Linked DNA regions of Homo sapiens: regions 1 and 2 are each linked to region 3. The links are contacts of gene promoters, found by promoter capture Hi-C in blood cells and fetal thymus (Javierre and others, 2016). All regions are on one chromosome and are shown on one strand. Each heading gives the region's core, a stretch centred on a gene start or on the middle of the fragment in contact. The rest is flanking DNA. Distances are from core to core; before and after follow the strand shown.

Region 1 (3,844 bases), core at 907-3,406, 130 kb before region 3:
TGCGCCCAGCATTTTTTTTTTTTTTTTTTTTTTTTTAGACAGAGTCACTCTGTTACCCAGGCTGGAGTGCAGTGGTGCAATCTCGGCTCACTGCAACCTCCACTTCCCGGGTTCAAATGATTCTCCTGCCTCAGCCTCCTGAGTAGCTGGGACTACAGGTGTGCACCACCACGCCCGGCTAATTTTTGCATTTTTAGTAGAGATGGGGTTTCACCATGTTGGCCAGGCTGGTCTCGAACTCCTGACCTCAGGTGATCCACCCACCTCGGCCCCCCAAAGTCCTGGGATTACAGGCATGAGCCACCGCGCCTGGCTAAAATTTCTTTGTAGAGACAGGGTCTTGCTGTGTTGGCATTTTCAACGTATAGAATCATGCTATCTGTAAATAAAGATAGTTTTACTTCTTCATTTCCAATTTGGATGCCTTTCATTTCTTGCCTAATTATCTGTCTAGAGCTTCTGATACAAAGTGGAATACCAGCCATGAAAGGAGGCATTTTGTCCTGTCCCTGGTCCTAGGGAAAGGCTTTCAGTCTTTAACCATTGAGTGTGCTGTTATCTGTGGGTTTATCATAAATGTCCATAATCATGTTGGAGTAATTCCATCCTATTCCTATTTTTCTGATTGTTTATTATCATGAAATGCTGTTGGTTCTTGTCAAATGCTTTCTCTGCATCATTTGAGATAATTATGTAGGGTTTTCCCTTCATTCTTTTATTGTGCTCTATACACTGATCGATTTATGTTTCACTGAGGGGAACTACCTGGGATAAATCCCACTTGTTCCTAGTGTATAATCCTTTTAATATTTTAGTATTTGTTGAAGATCTCTGCATTTGTATTCTTAAGGAAGAGTGGTCTATAATTTCTTTTCTTGTCATTTCTTTGTCTAGTTCTGGTATCAGTATAATGCTGGCCCCATAAAATGAGCTATGAAATACTGTTACCTCTTCTATTTTTTGGAAGAGCTTGAGAAGAATTGGTGTTAATTCTTCCTTAATGGTTTGGTAGAATTCACAAATGAAGCCCTGTAGTCTTTCACTTTTCTTTGTTCAAAGGGAGATTTTTGATTATTGATTCAATCGTTTTATTTGTTATAAGTCTATGCAGAATTTTTATTTTTTTCTTGAGTCAGTTTTGGTAATTTGTGTATTTCTAGTTTTCCATTTCATATAGGCTATATAATTTATTGGCATTTGTATTCTCTTACAAGCTTTATTTCTGTAAGGTCGGTAATCATGTTCTCACTTTCATCTATGTGTGTCCTTTTCTTGGTAGTCATTCAAACTCAAAGTTTGTTAATTTTGTTGATAACTAACATTTTGTTTCTTTCAATTGACTTTCTATTTTTTCTATTCTCTATTTCACGTCCTCTGCTCTAATCTTAATCTCCTTCCTTCTACCAGCTTCAGATTTAGTTTGTGCTTCTTTTGCTAGGCCCATAAGTCATAAAGTGAAGTTATTGATTTGAGATGTTTCTTGTTTTTAAAACATAGGCATTTATGGCTATAAATTTCCCTCTTAGCACTGCTTTTGCTGCACTCCATAAGTTTTATTGTGTTATGTTTTTGTTTTTATTTCAAAATATTTTTTAGTATATCTTGTGATCTCTCCTTCAAGTTGTAGCATGTTCTTTCCAAATACGGACAGTGAACCTAAATAGAAGAAGTGTAGGCCAGGCACAGTGGCTCATGCCTGTAATTTCAGCACTTTGGGAGGCCAAGGCAGGCGGATCACGAGGTCAGGAGATTGAGACTATCTTGGTCAACATAGTGAAACCCTGTCTCTACTAAAAAAAAAAATACAAAAAACAAATTAGCTGGGCATGGTGGTGCATGCCTATAATCCCAGCTACTTGAGAAGCTGAGGCAGGAAAATCACTTGAACCCGGGAGTCAGAGGTTGCAGTGAGCTGAGATCGCGCCACTGCACTCCAGCCTGGCAACAGAGCGATACTCCGTCCCAAAAAAGAAAGAAAAAAATAAATGTAATGCTTTCGTGAAATATTAAAGGAAGTCCTTTAGGCTTGTGAGACTAGTCTCCATCCCATAGCCCAGCAAATAATATTCTGAAGATTCACATCTGGAGGTGTGAAGCAGATAGACAGAGTTAGAAAACACAATCCAGGTTTTCAGCGTCACCAGAGGGATGTCACCTCCAATGGAGTAGTACCTGCCTGCTACCTAGAGGTTTTTGGGGCCCAGTTCAGATCCGACACAGCAGTGTTCCTGTCAGTACTGGTGAAAGATGAAGGATGGAGGCACTGGGGATGTGGAAGCCGTGGATGCCAGCTGTCCTGCTCGACCACTTTCTCTGGAGGCAGGAGCACGCCCTCAATATTCCATGCACACAAGGATCACCACTGGCCACGCCACTGCTCACGTGCAAAGTCTTTGAAGAAATTACATTTTTTAAATTAATTTTTGTTTTTGTTCGTTTGTTTCCCCCACAGGAGGGGAAAGGAGGAGAGGGAAAGAGAAGAGAAACAGAAGTTGAACATTTCTTTCCACTCACTTCCAAGCCCTGAGGAGCTCCACAACCTAGAACCAGGAAGCGCCTACAGAATCCGTGATATTTCTGCTACGAGGTGGAGTGGAACAAGAAAATAAGAAAATTGTGGCCAAAGACAGAAATAGGAATCATGATTTCTCCATAGGGGAAGGATTCCGTTGTAGTTTTTCCTAGGCTGAGTGAAAAGCAGGAGTAGAGAGTTGGTGCTTGGGTCACTACATTTATTCATAGATTTACTCTTTCAGTATTTTATTACGTGCATGCTGGTAAGTATGTTACAAATATGACCTCATACAAAGGTAAAACTTTCATACCAGCCGTATGAAGTAGGGATTATCCACTGCATTTTACGCAGCAGCAAGCCCAGGTTTAGAAAGGTTTCCGAAGTTCTCTGCTGTAGACACTGGGTAATTAACAGTAGATAAGACACAGTCCCTGTTCTCAAGGGAGTCACCATCTGGTAGAGGGAAGACAGATGTATCAACACATTAAATGCTGTAAGTATTGGACAGAGGAAAAAGAGAAAAGTGTTGTGAGGGAAAAGGAAAATGGGCCTAGAGGAGTGCAATTTTTTGTAACAAGCTTTGTGGAACTATTAATTTGATAATTTGATAGGCGCTTCTATTATGCTGCCTCTGAACCTTTGCCTCCTGCTCCTCTAACCACTGGGATTGCCAGCCTATTTCCAATATGCCCTCTTTCTGCCTGGCAAACATCTTGTCTTTTCTAAACTCAGCCCAGGGACATGACATCTGTAATGTGTTTCTGTGTGACTCCCAGGCTTCTGCCTTCTTAACCTCTCACCTTCCAGCTCATTTGAGTGAATCTTTGTCCAAGAATTGAGAGAAACTTTATAGGTAAAGCATGCACATGTTGTCTGATTTAATCTAAAATAGAAATAAGAAAACAAAAAATAATACTGCAACTAGGGACACATTTAGTCACTCCCAGTTCATGAGACAAGGAATAGTAAAGTTCATTCCTACCATAGCAAAAGTCAGGATTTAAATGTAAATTAATTTTTTTAATTAAAAAATTTTAAATTAGGCCAGGCGTGGTGGCTCACACCTGTAATCCCAGCACTTTGGGAGGCTGAAGTGGGCAGATCACGAGGTCAGGAGTTCGAGACCATCCTGGCCAACATGGTGAAACCCCATCTCTACTAAAAATACAAAAATTAGCTGGATGTTGTGGCGGGCACCTGTAATCCCAGCTACTCGGGAGGCTGAGGCAGAAGAATCGTTGGAACCCAGGTGGCGGAGGTTGCAGTGAGCCAAGACCATGCTATTGCACTCCAGCCTGGGCAACAAGAGCGAAACTCTGTCTCAAAAAA
Region 2 (4,036 bases), core at 1,368-3,867, 160 kb before region 3:
AGATTATTCAGAAATTTCTGGAAAAAGGGGTGGTAAATTCCAAGTCTGGTCATTGCTAGGGAATGGATAAACTGTCTTGATGCCTGGTGGGCATGTCTTAGGAAGCTAGTCTTCAATTAGGTCTGGAGTAGAGTTCCACCTCCAACCTCACCTCTTCATGATCTAGTGGGAAACTCAGGCCACACAATTGTCCTGCAGGGGATTGGGCACTGCAGTGGGGGGGATTCAGAGGGGTAAGGCAACAGCGGGAGGGGGACCCAGTCCAGCCTTGAGAAGGTCAGTACGTGGCGTTTGAGCTGAGATTTGAAGGGTGTGTTGGTCCAAGGACCTGCAGCATCAGCATCTCTCCAAATCAACTGACTCCGACTCTGCAGTTGATCAGGACTTCCAGTGATCTAGAAGCATGTTCCAGTTTGAGAAGCCCTGGTTTAGGGCACTAAGTAATAGAATACCTGAAACCCTTAGAGCAGAGCACGGTGGTGGTTATTAGCTGGAAATTATAAGCTGGCACTTATTCAGGGCCAGACACTTTTTGGTTTTTTGGAGTCTTGCTCTGTCGCCCAGGCTGGAGTGCAATGGCGCAATCTCAGCTCACTGCAACCTCCACCTCCCAGGTTCAAGCGATTCTCCTGCCTCAGCCTCCCGACATAGACACTTTTACCTGTTAGCTCTCTAAGCATTTCCATTTCCTGATCCCTTCATAGATACGATTTCCCTGTAGTCATCATGCACACTCAGGGAGTTTTTTTTTTTTTCTTGTTTTCTTTTCTTTTCTTTCTTTTTTTTTTTTTTGAGACAGAGTCTTTCTGTGTCACCCAGGCTGGAGTGCAGTGGCGTGATCTCGGCTCACAGCAACCTCTGCCTTCCAGGTTCAAGCGATTCTTGAGCCTCAGCCTCCCAAGTAGCTGGGATTACAGGCATGCTCCACCACACCAGCTAATTTTTGTATTTTTAGTACAAAAATACAGGGTGAGACAGGGTTTCACCATGTTGCCCAGGCTGGTCTCAAACTCCTGAGCTCAAGCAATCCACCCACCTTGGCCTCCCAAAGTGCTGGGATTATAGGCGTGAGCCACCATGCCCGGCCGACTCAGGGAGTTTTTTCAAAGTGAAGAAAAACCTAACCCATAAATTGCTTGAGTTTAATGACATTTTAATGAATATTAAATTTAACAGCTATGAGTTTGATAGATTGTTTCTTAAGCATTTAAGCATTTTAATTTTGCAGAGCTCTGAATTGGTTTTTCTTCTGAAACCAGTCCTTTTTTTCCTGTGGGTTGAGTGTCTGCCCTATGCACAGAGCTGTGCATACTTTTTTTTTCTTTTTTTTCTTGAGACGGAGTCTCATTATGTCACCCAGGCTGGAGTGCAGTGACGCAATCTCGGCTCACTGCAAGCTCCACCTCCCAGGATCACACTATTCTCCTGCCTCAGCCTCCCGAGTAGCTGGGACTACAGGCGCGCGCCACCATGCCCGGCTGATTTTTTGTATTTTTTTTTTTAGTAGAGACAGGGTTTCACCGTGTTAGCCAGGATGGTCTCGATCTCCTGACCTCGTGATCCGCCCGCCTCGGCCTCCCAAAGTGCTGGGATTACAGGCGTGAGCCACCGCGCCGGCCCTGTGCATACATTATTTCCTTTAATTGGTGCATTCACCCTAGAGGGAGATAGTGTTCACAGTCTAACAGGACCAGGGTTAGGTAACTTGCCCAGCAGGTGGAGTCAACAGAGAGACCCTAGATCTGGTGGGTGTCACTGTCTCCAGAAAGGAGGCTGTCTCAAGCTCCTGGGCTACAATCTTCATTGTCCCATGACAAGAGGAATTAATAACAGCTTTTCCCCTTCTATAGGGAGAGAGTTTTCTTTGTTTGCTGGTAAGAGAGCCTTCTCCCAGAAGCCAGCCCAGAGCAGGAAATTCTACCACCCTCAGGTAAGTGGGGAGGCACGGACCAGGACCCCTTTGGAGTCCCATAAGCTTCAGGAACCCTCGGTTCTTCTGGAGCATCAGTGGCCTCCGGTTAGTTGCACATCTCTGTACCCCTTGCCCAGGTCCACTCCATCTTCTAAGTGAGGAGCCCTGGGAGGCCTCCAGGTCTCCCATGGGTAAGTGGCTAAGTGGCATACTAAGGGGCATTCACAGAAATGCAGCGATTGAGAAGAGAGAGGGAAGGAACCAGGTTTTCAGTGTAGGCTGCAGTGCAAGATGCTTTTACTTATTTTTTTTTCTCCACTAATCCTCATGGCAAACCTGAAACCTAGCAGTCATCCCTGATACGTACTTTCTCCTCTGCCCTATTGATGTTCCTTCTGATGTACCTCCCAGAACCACCTGTTTCTCACTTTTCCACTCCCACCACCCTAGTTTGAGCTCCCATCACTACTGCAGTAGGCACCTAACTGGTCTCCCTCAGGTTCTCAGATACTTCTAGGGCCATCTTTTCAAAGTGCAAAGCTAAGTACATCATCCCATCACCACCTGACCCTATCCTATCCCCCGACCCTAAAAACCCTACTTCCAGGCCAGGCACAGTGACTCACGCCTATAATCCCAATACTTTGGGAGCCCAAGGCAGGCAGATCACTTGAGACCAGGAGTCCAAGACCAGTCTGGTCCACATGGTGAAACCTCGTCTCTACTAAAAATACAAAAATTAGCCAGGCTTGGTGCCATGCACCTGTAGTCCCAGCTACTCAGGAGGCTGAGGCACAAGAATTGCTTGAACCCGGGAGGCAGAGGTTGCAGAGAGCTGAGATCACACCACTGCACTGCAGCCTGGGTAACAGGGCAAGACTCTGTCTCAAAAATAAATAAATAAATAAATAAATAAGATCCTACTTCTAGCCAATAAAATGACACCCTCCACACCCCAGAATGCTTCCTCTGGCCTTTAGTAGACTGACTTGCACAGCCTTGCTCATCTGGCTCAACCCCTTCTCCAACCTCCTGGGCTCTCAGGGGTCCTGCCTCAGGGGACTTCTTTTATTTCCTTGTATACCACACTCCCTTTCTGTATGTGGCCTCTGTACCTCCTGTTCTTCTTGTCCCAGGTAAGCTCCTATCACCATTGCCATTGTCACTGTCAGCATTTCCTCCCAACCCCCAAGTCCAGAGACATTGATAGCATGCAGTTAACCAAATGCCACAAATAAAGGCTTTTTTTTTTTTTTTTCTGAAGAGCTGGAAAAAAAAATCCCAGGGCAGGGTTTAGCAAACTATGAATCAGACCTTTCACTGCCTGTTTTTGAAAATAAAGCTTTATTGGCACACAGCCATGGCCATTCATTTACTATTGTCTACAACTACCTTCACACTGAAACAGCAGAGTTGAGTACTTGCGATAGAGACTTTAGGACCTGCAAAGCCGAATATTTATCATCTGGCTTTTTGCAGAAAAAGTTTGCTAACCCCTGGTCTAGGAGATATATAGTCATCCTTCCATCTCAGTTCAGATTCTTGTAGGGAGGGAAAAAAACCTTTTATCTACCCTCTGAGGCAAAGTGTATGGAGCCCTACAAGTTAAACTGACAAAAGATAGACAGTTTAACAGGAGAAAGGCATTCAAATTTTATTTGATGTTAGTATTTTTACATGACACAGGACTTCATTGGAAGAAAGCGAAAACCTCAAGGAAGTGGCTAGGTCTGATAGTTCACATACCACCCTAACAAAGAGCAATTAATTGTGGAGATGTGACAAGACAAAGGAAAAGAGGTTTAGGCTTCTGGGGATGGTAAATTGTGGGAAGGTAAATATATGGGAGAAACTAATGGAAGATAAGGATTCTTTCAATAAGATTTCTATATGCAGATTCAAGGGGTGCCATCTCCAGTGATGAGTTGTCTCTTCTTCCTGGTACTGGAGATGGGAAGTGGGGACACCTTCACAAAGGAAAATTTATGCTCTGCTTTTAGATGGAAACTGGAATTGTAAAGAGATTTCCTGCATCTGCTGTTTTTCAATTGCCTTCAGCTCAAAATAATTCCTATGCAAAGTGGCCTATTTTGGGATGGCAGATTCTAACCCCCTTCACTCTCA
Region 3 (4,187 bases), core at 960-3,459:
ACCTCACTTAATCTACCCCTTGGGAATGGAGGACGTTAGGGTCCTCAATTTACAGACAGATTAAATAAAAACTTGTTCAAGGTCAAGTAGCTCCTAGGTGCTTTTGAGCCTAGGTTAGCCTGACTCCTCATCCCACTAAGCAAGAACCATACTTGTGCCCCGCCCAGGGGCTGGTATGTGGTGGGTGCCTAGTGCTGGTTGAATGAATGAGTGGGTGATAAATGACTTCTGCTGGGGTCATCAGGAGGCCTTCTCAAGGAAGTGGCACTGAGGCTGGGCTTGGGGAACAGCAGGAATTCTCTGGGCAAAAAAGGTGGAAGGATATCTTAGTGAGGAGGAACAGTGCGTGCAGGCAGAGAGGTGTGGAGGCCTGTGGCGTGTTCTGGAATCTGTGGAATCAGGGTGTACCTGTGGATTTATGGGATGTGGGATGCCGGATAAGGTGGGGCCTGACTATACCACACTGAGGAGTTGGGACTGAATCCTTTTGAGTAGGGAGAGCCCACGAGGAAGGGAAACACTTGTGGTGGTTTGTGTGTTGCTGTTCTTATGCTGACATCCTCGAGGCTCAGGAGAGCCAGAGGGGATTTCAGATTTCATCAGTTCTCCACCTGGCTTTGGGGTGCCTCGGTCTCTCCCTCTCTGTAATGGGGCTAGTCGGTGATGGCCAGACTCCCAGGGAAGTTTTGCTGGCTGTCTAACTGCAGGTGTTCTCTCGTCCTACCACCCTGGAAGGAGGAGCACTTTCCCTCCTGTCTCCTCGGAGGGCTAGAGTGACGTGGCAGGATGGTCAGGATGTAGCTGGCTAGACAGGTGCTGTGGGTGCTGGGGGTTCCCTGACACCCCAGAGTGTGGGGCCCAGGCCTGACAGCTTGGGGTAATGGAGAGCGACAGAGAATAAGAGACTAGGGTTTGGCCTGGCTTTGTCATCTCTGGGTGACCTTGGCCGAGTTTCTGACCCTCTCTGGTACCCAGTCTCGCCATCTGTAAAATGGGGCAGTGGTGACTGAGTGATCGCGAGGGTCCCTCCAATAGGGCCCCCTCAGACTCCCAGAGTGAGGTGCTTCGGGTCCTTGACCGGCGGTACTTTGGGAGAGTACGAGGACCGCTAAGGAGAGGGGCGGACTCCGTGGGACCCCAGAGGGACCAGCTCCCACCCACCCCCCTTCCCGGCTCGGAGGAACCCTCTCCACCTGCCCCCTTTTGGGGGGGGGGCACAAAACCCGGGAGCGGATCCAGGAACGGGTTCTGGGAGGAGCGCTCCTGGGGCGAGGAGGAAAACCCGGGCAGGATCCAGGGCAGGAGCGGGGCCAGCAGCCCCCCGCCCCAGCCCCTGCTCCGCGCCGCGGGCCCCGCGGGAGGGGGCTTGAGGCCGGGTTAGGCCGAGGGGCGGGCAGGGCGGGGTCCCGCGGGCAGCCGGGGCTCCCGGGCTGGGGGGCGCGCGGCCTCCGCAGTGGGGCGCGGGTCACGTGTGAGGAGGGGCGAAAGTCTCGCAAAGCGGGGCGGCGTGCCGCGAGTTGGGAGTTCTCGGCGCGCCGCGGGCGGCGGGAGCTCGGGCTCCCGGGCGAGCCGGGGACGCGGCCAAGGCGGGGGCCGGGGTCCGAGACAGAGGGGGCCGCACGGAGAGTGGGAGGGGGAGAGACAGAGAAGGACAGGGGCCGCGAGGGAGACGGACAGAGACGCGCAGGGGAGAGAGGCAGCGCGGGCAGAGGGAGGCGGGGGGAGGCCGGCGGGCGACCGCGACGGAGACGGAGACCCCGCGGGCAGAGGGCGAGCGGGGCCGCAGGAGGCAGGGAGGCCGGGAGAGGGACCGGGACGCGAGCGCGGCGGAGACCCCGGCGGCAGGAGAGAGACGCGAGAGCGGTCGGGGAGGTGGCGACAGAGCCCGGCCGGCGGGGGCGGGGAGGGCGACCCCAGGCCGGGAGGCCGAGGGGTCGCGGGGCCGGGGCCGAGCGCAGCGGGGCCGGGAGTGGAGCGCAGGGCCGGGGGCAGAGCGCGCGAGCAGGAGCGGGTGACAGCGAGGGAGCTGGGCGCAGCGGGGGACGGCGGCGGGGAGGGCGCCTGCAGCGGGGGTGGGGGGCGCGGGCGGCGGGGCGCCCCGGGCCCCCGGACCCCCGCGCTGTGAGCCCGGCCGGGCCCGACGATGCTGACGCCGAGGCGGCGCCGAGGGCGCGGCGCGGGGCAGCGCTGAAAGTTGGGCGGCCCGCGGGGAGCGGCGCGGGACGGCCGGGACGCGCGGAGACCCCAAGACCCACGCGCAGACCGAGCGGCAGCCGGGGAGGGGAGCGCGGGCCGGCCGGCCGAGTTCGCGGGCAGGGGGCGCCGGGACTCCCCTTTCCGCGCCCGGGACGCCGCCCGCCGGATCGCGCCTTGGGATGTAGCGCCCGCTCGCCGCCTCCCGGACTCTCGTCGGACCCTCCGCCCAGCGGTAAGCCGCGCTCGCCCACCCCGGGCGCTGTCCGTCAGTTTGTCCCGCCGCGTGCGTGTCTGTGTGTCCCGGGCCCGCCGCTCCGGCCCCGCCCGCTCCGCACCTGATCCGGAGCCGGGTCCCGGCTGCCCGGCGCCGCGCGCGCGGTCCCGTGACTCCCCGGGAGCGGGCGGGCTCCACGGGCGGGCTCTGTCCGTCTGTCCGTCTGGGAGCGTCGCGGTCTGGGTTGTGGCCTGGAAAGGGGGAGAGAGGTGGGTGGAAGGGGTCTTGACCTCCTGCCCCAGCCATGACCTTTCCCTGCCTCCACCCACCCCAGTTGTCATGCCGGGGAGCTTCAAGGCAGGTGACTTGTGGCAAGGTGGGGGATGCCGCCTTTCCGCCTCCCCAGCTGCATCCTCGTTGCAAATGGCCCTGTGATCTGAAGAACGAAATCTCACTTCTCATGTTTTGAGCACCTACTTGGCGCCACACGACCCCAGGGCGCAGGGGCAGGGATTGGTAGAGGAGGCACTGCACGTTCACAGTGATAGACACAGGCTGGGGAGGGAGGCAGAGGCTGCTTTTTCCTCCGTGTGTAGGGAGCACCCCAAGGCAAGAGAGGTCTCAATGAGCCTCCCGCAGGGAGAACTTCCCCTGCAACCTGCCAAATGTCCCCCCACCAGTGTCAGCCTCCCTGCCCCCTACCCACATTTCTGCCCCCAGTGTCCCTGCTTCAGGATGGACAGGATGCAGGGAGTTGGGAGGTGGCAAGCTGGGTGGGGTGGAGCGGCGGGCTAGAGGCAGGGCAGCCTGGCCAGCTGACAGAGCAGGGCCTCAAGAGCAGTAGAATGTTCAGCAGCAGGTTTGGGGGAAGTGGGGAACTCAGGGAGGGAGGCCCAGAGAAGGGTTGGAGCCGTGTGTGTGTGTGTTCTCCCCCACATCCAGTCCCATGACCTCCATGGCTTCAGGCCTTTTGGGGGCAGTTAGCAGGACTTTAGGGGCCCAAGAGCCTCACTGTGGCCCTGGCTTGGCCTGTGCTGAGGGGAGCAAAAGGTGGACCAGGGCAGCTGGGGTAAGAGATGGGTGCAGCATGGTGGGAACAGAGACTGTTGGCCACTGAACTGACCCATATCCCAACTGGAGTTGGAAGGGCTGAGCCTAGAACATTCCACTCCATTCTCACTGGGAGGAGGGACTCTTTCTGGGGTGTTCCACACTGGGCAGTGGGTCTCATATGTCCTCCATTCAGCCTCCCAGAAATTAGCTCAGGTGGCTGGGAGAGCAGCCCCCTGGGCTGGTCACTCTCCTCCCAACCGTCATCTTCCACATCTGTGGCATGGGGACGTCACTCCCTGCCCCAGTGACCTCCAAGGCGGGCCCTGGGCTCAATGAGCAGTGGGCTGTTCACAGGCTGGGGAAAGCACTGGGGAGATGGGAGTAAAGACTCACTTTACCTTAAGAGAGATGAACAGCTAGTGGGTGGAGGTGGGCGTGGGGCAGTGGGAATATGGCGGAAATAGCTGACGAAGGAGGAGTGTCCAGGATTAGAGGGGGAATCTGGGGTACAATTCCTCATGGCCCTTTGGGTTATCCTTGAAAAGAAAGCTCTTCTCTCAGAAAATCCTCTGGAGTGGCTGTGACCAGGCAGAGCTGGTTGAGTTTCTGCTGGGTGACCTTGGGTGGGTGGCTTGACCTCTCTGAACCTCAGTTTCTTCAACTGGAGAATAGGTATGATGATACTGACTTCATCAGGGTGTTGAGCAGTTTCCAGACTGTGTCA

Evidence for each region. Contacts are between HindIII fragments. The CHiCAGO score rates a contact against its expected background, and 5 or more counts as called.
Region 1: a contact is called between a fragment that was not itself captured here and the fragment with the promoter of KCNJ4 in region 3, in 7 of 17 cell types (M1 macrophages, M0 macrophages, M2 macrophages and 4 more). The highest score is 10.2, in M1 macrophages.
Region 2: a contact is called between a fragment that was not itself captured here and the fragment with the promoter of KCNJ4 in region 3, in 1 of 17 cell types (M1 macrophages). The highest score is 7.2, in M1 macrophages.

The regions. Positions count from the first base shown.
Region 1 is chr22:38,584,808-38,588,651 of GRCh38, reverse strand. FAM227A (family with sequence similarity 227 member A) reads left to right here. Exons shown (of 17, transcript NM_001013647.2): 17 at 2,453-3,844. The coding sequence ends at 2,527. Among named protein-coding and RNA genes, the nearest start is that of DMC1, 17 kb to the right of the region's middle. RefSeq lists a silencer at 2,841-3,041. The HindIII fragment of the contact is 1,879 bases long and covers 1,217-3,095 here.
Region 2 is chr22:38,618,106-38,622,141 of GRCh38, reverse strand. It overlaps FAM227A (family with sequence similarity 227 member A), which reads left to right. Exons shown (of 17, transcript NM_001013647.2): 11 at 1,851-1,930. Among named protein-coding and RNA genes, the nearest start is that of FAM227A, 36 kb to the left of the region's middle. The HindIII fragment of the contact is 1,279 bases long and covers 1,978-3,256 here.
Region 3 is chr22:38,453,221-38,457,407 of GRCh38, reverse strand. It overlaps KCNJ4 (potassium inwardly rectifying channel subfamily J member 4), which reads left to right and starts at 2,209. Exons shown (of 2, transcript NM_152868.3): 1 at 2,209-2,428. LOC124905116 (a long non-coding RNA gene) reads left to right here. Exons shown (of 2, transcript XR_007068096.1): 2 at 1-86. The HindIII fragment of the contact is 17,538 bases long and covers 1-4,187 here.